Linked DNA regions of Homo sapiens: region 2 is linked to region 1. The links are contacts of gene promoters, found by promoter capture Hi-C in blood cells and fetal thymus (Javierre and others, 2016). All regions are on one chromosome and are shown on one strand. The core of a region is centred on a gene start or on the middle of the fragment in contact, and the rest is flanking DNA. Distances in the headings are between cores, read along the strand shown.

The links. Contacts are between HindIII fragments. The CHiCAGO score rates a contact against its expected background, and 5 or more counts as called.
Region 2: a fragment that was not itself captured here is called in contact with the fragment with the promoter of NUGGC in region 1 in 2 of 17 cell types (M1 macrophages and endothelial precursors); the score reaches 5.7 in M1 macrophages.

Annotation. Positions count from the first base shown.
Region 1 is chr8:28,082,366-28,086,075 of GRCh38, reverse strand. NUGGC (nuclear GTPase, germinal center associated) reads left to right here and starts at 2,140. Exons shown (of 19, transcript NM_001010906.2): 1 at 2,140-2,301. The HindIII fragment of the contact is 3,402 bases long and covers 270-3,671 here.
Region 2 is chr8:28,295,521-28,299,209 of GRCh38, reverse strand. No RefSeq gene overlaps it. Among named protein-coding and RNA genes, the nearest start is that of PNOC, 20 kb to the left of the region's middle. The HindIII fragment of the contact is 3,459 bases long and covers 1-3,437 here.

The DNA.
Region 1 (3,710 bases), core at 891-3,390:
CCAGGCTGGAGTGCAGTGGCCTGATCTTGGCTCACTGCAACCTCTGCCTCCCATGTTCAAGCAATTCTCCTGCCTCAGCCTCCTGAGTAGCTGGGACTACAGGCACACACTGCCATGACCGGCTAGATTTTGTATTTTTAGTAGAGACAGGGTTTCACCATGTTGGCTAGGCTGGTCTCAAGCTCCTGACTTCAGGTGATCTGTCCACCTCGGCCTCCCAAAATGCAGGGATCACAGGTGTGAGCCACTGGGCCTTGCCCCAGGAAGCTTTAAAAATGCTCAAAATTAATTTTAATAATTAAGTAATTTAGTAGCATTTGTGGTTAACTGTTGAAGCTAAGAAATAGCCAGTAGAGGGAGAGCTGAGCACACGTGACATGAATGTAAGCGTAAGGTGTGATTTTGCCTAGAGAGATCAGTATAAGACTCAGCATCCAGGATGGCATTTGTGCTGACTTTCTTTGTTCTGAACTTTAGCCTGGTGTTTCTGTGGTTTTCTTATGGAGGAGGGACGTCATCTTGCCAAAAGTTCAAAGCAGTTTTTAAGACCACAGTCTAAACATTTATCTTCAATTCTTTCCCTGTTCTGACCTCTTTACCTTCTGAATCCCCTCTTCAGACTAAATACATACCTAGAGTACTGAGGGTTGTCTTGGTAATGACTGAGTTGGCCTTTAAAGGTAACATACACCCTTGGCCCAGCACAGTAGCTCATACCTGTAATCCCAGCACTTTGGGAGGCCAAGGTGGGCGGATCATATGAGATCAGGAGTTCGAGACCAGCCTGGCAAACATGGTGAAACCCTGTCTCTACTAAAATTAAAAAAAAAAAAAGTCAGGCATGGTGACGCACCCCTGTAGTCCCAGCTACTCAGGAGGCTGAGGCAGGAAAATCTCTTGAACCCGGAAGACGGAGGTTGCAGTGAGCTGAGACGGCGCCACTGCACTCTAGCCTGGGTGACAGAGCAAGACTGTGTCTCACAAAAAAAAAAAAAAGGTAACACACACCCTGAAGCTGAGGGTTCAAGGGACAACTTTTTCCCTGTATGTGATGTGATGGTTTGGGTTGCCAGACACAGCAAAGTGGAGTGGGTTTTATTTTCTTCTCTCCTGGACAGCACTTTCAAATTTTTGTTTTCTGGGTTTATTAAAAATATGAATTTAAAATTAGATGGGCGTGATGGAGCATGACCATGGTCCCAGCTACCCAGGAGGCTGAGGTGGGAGGATGGCTTGAGCCTGGGAGGTCGAGGCTGCTGTGAGCTATGATCACGCCACTGCACTCCAGGCTGGGTGACAGAGCAAGACCTTGTCTCTAACTAAATAAAGACATAAAAATATACGGATTTAAAATTTAAGTTCCAGAAAGAGGTGTAAAGCGGTATATCACTCATTTCTACACTCAAACAATCCAATGTTGTTTTATTTTTGGCAAATGTTATTTTTGGTGAATTTTAAGACTTTGGGTCAAGAATAACTTTATATTTATTATCTCATATCCTCCATCTCTCCCAGTCATGTCTTATAGTTGGGTGTCGGGGAGCCAGTGCTTTGTCTGTCTTGGAACTGGGGCATTTTTCCTGTCTGCTCCAGTGAACCAGTCATCTGAATATTGTTCACCCTCAGAGAAAAGATGCTGTGGAAGGATGCAGTGATGCACTTGGAAAGGAAAAAAGACATCTGTCTACTTGTAGGAACATGGCAGAGAAGGGTGCAAGATCCCCGTTTCATGTACCATTTAGATTTTTTTTTTTTTCGAGATGTAGTCTTGCTCCATCATCCAGGTTGGAGTGCAGTGGCGCGATCTTGGCTCACTGCAACCTCCACCTCCCAGGCTCAAGTGATTCTCTTGCTTCAGCCTCCTGAGTAGCTGGGACTACAGGGTTCTGCCACCACGCCTGGCTGATTTTTTTTTTTTTTTTGTATTTTTAGTAGAGTCAAGGTTTCACCATGTTGGCCAGGCTGCTGTTGTACTCCTGACCTCAAGTGATCTGCCTGCCTCAGCCTCCCAAAGTGCTGGGATTACAGGAGTGAGCCACCGTGCCTGGTGAATTTAGATTTAAGTGAAAGAAGACAGAATAAATCAGTATCTGTGGGAGGAGACCATGGTAAATAGCTCCCTGATGGCAAGTTGGTTTCACTTCTGCTGTGTAAACGTGGCTTTGTGATTGTGGCCCAAAGGGCTACGTACCCCAGCTGGTTCCAAATACCTGAACCAAGGAGAAGCTGCCACCATCTCCTCTGTGGACTCCTGTAACCAAACCAGAACTTTTTTTTTTTTTTTCTGTTCAGTGACATCTGGTAAGTTGTTTCTTTTATGTAATTTGTACTGTAACTTGTGGTTGATTTTTTAAAAATGGACCTTAATTTTTAGAACAGTTTTGAGTTTACAGGAATATTGAGAAGATAGTTTAGAGCATTCCCATGTAATTCCCACCCAACTTCCCCATTATCTTGTATTAGTGTGGTACATTTGTTACAACTGATGAACCGATACTGATACGTTATTCTTAAACTAAAGTCTGTGCTTGATTCAGATTCTTGGTTTTTATCTAACGTCTGCTTTCTACTGTGGCATCCTATCAGGATAGCACATTATATTTAGTTATGTTCCCTTAGGCTCCTCTTAGCTGTAGCGTTGTTTCTCAGACTTTCCTTGTTTTTGATGAATATGGCAGTTTTGAGGAGTACTGGTTGGGTATTTTGTAGGCTTCTCCTATTGGCATTTGTCTGATGTTTTTCTCATTATTAGACTGGAGTTATGGGTTTTGGGGAAGGAGTCCCAGAGTTAAAGTGCTGTTCTCATCACATCATATCAAGGGATAATATTGTCAACATGATTTAGGACTGTTGGTGTTGACCTTGACCACCTGGTAGAGGCAGCGCTTGTCTGGTTTCTCTGCTATAAGGTGATCCTTTCCCTGCTCCAATCTCCGCCGTGTTCTCTTTGGAAAGAAGCTGCTATGCACAGCACACACTTAAGGAGCAGGGAGTTTTATTCTACCTCCTTGAGGATGGAGTAGCTACGTAAATTATTTGGAATTCTTCTGTATATGGGACATTTGTCTCTTCTCTCTCCTTTGATTTTCTTAAAGCAAGTTATTTCTTGAGGGAAAGTGAATTTTACTTTTCTGTTTGCTTAAGTGAATTTTGGGGGTTTGGTTTGTTTGTTTTTGAGGCTTCGGTCTGTTACCCAGGCTGGAGTGCAGTGGTATGAACATGGCTCACTGTAATCTTCACCTTCTGGGCTCAAGTAATCCTCCTGCCTCAGCCTCCTGAATAACTGGGACTACAGATACATGCTGCCATGCCCAGCTAATTAAAAAAAAAATTGTAGAGATGAGGGTCTCACTTTGTTGCCAAGGCTGGTCTCAAGCTCCTGGGCCCAAGGGATCCCCTCTCCTCTCAGCCTCCCAAAGTGCTGGGATTACAGGCATGAGCCACCATGCTCAGGCTGTTTAAGTGAATTTTAAGGCTATGTAAAAAGGCCAGTGGGCTAGAAATGGGGAGAATCAGGTTTTAGTTTGAATTTTACAGAACAGTGTGATCTTAGGCAAGTCATTAATCATTCCTCCCAAAAGAAAACAGCTATTGCAGAAATTGCTGGCAGGTGTATGAATTCCTGATAAGGAGGGAAGTGTCATCTTATGCCTCATTAGCTTTAACAAGCTTGGGAGAGCAATATGAGAAGATTCAAATTCGTTTCGCTA
Region 2 (3,689 bases), core at 459-2,958, 210 kb before region 1:
GTGGTAGTGCCTGCAAAAGTAATTTCAAAGATTAAGATACTTGCAGAGATGACAGTTATAATTGGCTATTAGAGAAAATGGAATGCTTTGGGTGGCGCACCCCAGAGGCTGCTGTCAGGGCTGTACATTTCCAGCTGCAGAGGCAGAGAGTCATACCTAGCTTGGCCCTTCTCATATCCTTGGGAGGCAGTTTGCTCCAAGAGATGCATCTTGCTTTCAGAACACATTCCCATTGACTTTTTTTTTTAAACACAAAACAATCATTTATTGCTGACTGAGCTCAGGAGGTGGTTCTCACTGGGGGTCTCTTGTGAGGATGCAATAAGACATTGATGGGAGGTGCAGTCATCTCAAAGGCTGTCTGTTGATGCTGTCTGTTTGCCAGGACCTCCACTGGGGCTGAGGACTAGAATGAATATACTCAGCCTCTCCATTGTTGCCTGGGTTTCTTCACAACATGGCAGCAGGGATTGAAGAGCAAGCGTCCCAAGAGAGAGCCAGGCTAAAGTACCTTTCATAGTCTAGCCTTGGAACACATGCAGTGTCACTTGTGCTGTTTTCTGTTGTCTTCCTTAGAAATGTGTCCCTAAGTCCAGCCCATATTCAAGACTAGGGGAATAGACTTTACCTCTCGAGGGGTGACCCATCAACTTGAAAAAAAAAAAAACCTGGTTGTTGTTTTATCATTGTCACACATTGATAATAATTATACCTAACATTCCCCCCATTCCACCCATTCAATGAGTCAAGCATTCAATCATTTAGCAAATACTTATTGCTAGGCATTTTGTCCATACTTACATCTGAATAGGGCTTCACAGTTTCCAGAGAAACTTTGTAACAAGTATTTGACTCGGTGTTCTCAACAACCATGCATGAAAGGCTAGGTGTGTTTAATTACTTCCATTTCTCAGATAAGGCAGTAAGAGGCTGGGAACTCATCCAAAGTCTCTGAGCTAGTGCCTGGTCCAGAGGTCATTCAAACCCAAGTCTGTCCTGGAAGGGCATTCTTTCCACTTACCACCCAGGACACCATCTTCCTCTCTCTCTCAAAATATCCAAGACCGGAGAGGAGGATAGACAGCCAGATAGACTTGCTCTGAGGTACTATGGCTTTTGCATGGGGTGGCCACAATTGAGGTATTTGAGGCATTTGAGGGTGAAAGGCAGCGCTATTGATAATGACCCTGGGGTGACAGGCACGAACCAGGCATACTGGACATAGGGTCACTTCACCCACAAATGCTCAAATAACTGGAACCCAAGTGTCTTGTGCTTTTCTGCCAAATCATGCCTTATTTTTTTAAACTTCCTACCTCTTTAAGCAAAACCAACAAATGCTATCAATGCCACAAGGATATGAGTGACCCATAGCTCCCCAGGAGAAGGCACAAGGGCATCTATGTGCTCACATGCAATTGCTTGGCCAGCTCCTGGAACCTGCTCCATTCCAAGTGAACTGAAGGGGTCTGGGGTGTGAGTTTGGGGTTGCTGGGCAGAGGCCTGCAAGGAGATGGTCCAGCCACCCCAGGCGTCTCATTTCCCTCTCCTGCTGCATCATTGGTTGGGGAGGCAGGAAGACCACATTCTGGAGAGAGTGGCATTGGGGAGCCGTGGAGTGAATATTAGGCCTCGGTGTAGCCCTTGCTGGGCAGAAATGGCTGGGCCTTTGTACCCCACCCACCTCTGTCACTGGGTGCTGGGTTTCCCAGGAAGGATGCAGCCTCCAGTGGCACAGACATCTCTAGTCGAGGCAGATCCCGAAGGAACTGAGAGCTAGCAGCTTTGTGCTGACCATGCTTCCCACAGCCAGGCCCTAAGGCTTTCCTTCAAGGGGGACCTGGGTGGAGCATCTCATGCCCCCTCAGGCTGTAGAAAGAACCAGAAAATAGAAAGAAAATGTCTATTTAAAATTAGATATGGTCTCAGAACTTAAGGGATCCAGATCTGGTGTAGATTCTATTACTTGTTAGTTCGCGTGACCTTGGACATGTCCTTTTCCCTTCCTGGAACTCACTGTCCTCATCTGTAAAAGTGAGAGAGCTGAATTAGCTTTGGAGCTGGCCTGGCTCCACCCTGCTGTTTTGTAGTCATGAAGTCATTTAATACCTGGGCTGGGCAGACTTCTCTCTCTGTTAGAGTGGGTTGGAGCAAGCCTATCTGCTCTTGGTTGGGAATATTTGTTACAGGCTATTCAAAGTAAACTAGAAGACCCCCCAGAGAATAACGTTTTAAATGGAACTGCAGAAAAATCTATTGTGACTGGTAAGTGGCTAAAGAACAGAAAATCCCTAGGGAGTGATTGGATGCCACTTGTCACACTTGGAAAAGATTTAACTTATCCATTAATGGGAAAGAGTGTGTAGAGTTGTGGCTAATAACTGCATTGTGCCGCACTTAGCATTTATGAAGAACAAATTGTGTTTTTCCTGTTGTTTGGATTTTACTTCCTTCCTGAAAACCCTTCACCAGCCTCTTCTGTGTCTTGTAAGCATCGACTTCAAATGGCACATTGGATGTGCAAGGTTTTTAGAAACTAATGAATTATCTGTAGCTTTCCATTACTCTTATCTCCCGTTCCAAGGTAATTAAAAGATGGCTGTGCCACTGAATAATTTCAAGCGTGTTGTCCAGTTATCTAATCTGCAGTATTTATCTTCTCTGCATTGCTGAATACCTTCTTCTCTCCTGGTCAAAGAAATCTCGGAGGCTTCACTTCTTTGGTAGATTGCTGACACCAGGGATGGCAGGTTGCCCCGGCCCCGTGAGTCCTCTGGGCAGTCAGGTGTCAGCAGAGTGGAGTGGGAGCTTCAGTGACAGGTTGGCGTCTTAGAACATTCCACCCCCTGACTCCTTGCAGAATGGGTGGGACATAGAGTGAAAGCCAGGGACTTGGGGAGGCAGGAGTCTCTGCAGCTCGCAGACGCAGAGTTCTGTCTTCTTGTCATCTGCTGGAGAGAGATTCAGGGAGCCATCATTTCTGCCAGGTCGGGGGGCCCAGATGCAGCCCCTTTGGGCAGCAGGGCCAACTCTGTGCTGCTAGTCTTCAGTGGGGAGGAGGGGACAGGGAGCCAAAGTTGGGGGGCTTGTCCAGTTGGCAATGGTCATTTGTGGGCTACAGTTGAGGCAGCCCCTGAAGGGGCAGAGTTTTCTAGAGACGACTTCCAAGGTGGGTTTTGAGGAAAGCAAGGGATCTTGAGGAATGGAGGGGAGTAGGGCACCATAAGGAAACACCAGCACAGGACTCACATATGCTGGGAGACAGAGCTTGGCTGCCACCAGGGCCCAAATGGGGTTGGAAGGCAGATGCAGCGGAATGACCGTTAGTGATCAGAAGTGCTTCCTCTCCGTTTTCTGCCAGGAATCCGATGAGTTGGACTGGAATCACTACAGGTTCTTGAGCTAGTGGGGAAATGCATTTGGAGCATTTGGAAGCTTTGGAGAATGGATCAGAGTGGGGAAGAGACTGCATGGTAGGGGAGCAGCCCTCCTAGGGAGACAGCTGTAGCCCAGGTATGAGGAAAGGGAGGGGAAGGTGTTGTGGAAATGTCAAAGTCAAAGTGCTGTACATTTCTTGCTTAATGTCATCAATCCCTTCCAGGAACCTGGACCTCTGACCCTGGTAATATCCCAAACAGCTCCACAATGCTCCATTTCCAATGTCACTGCCCTGTCCCTAGTTGGGCCCC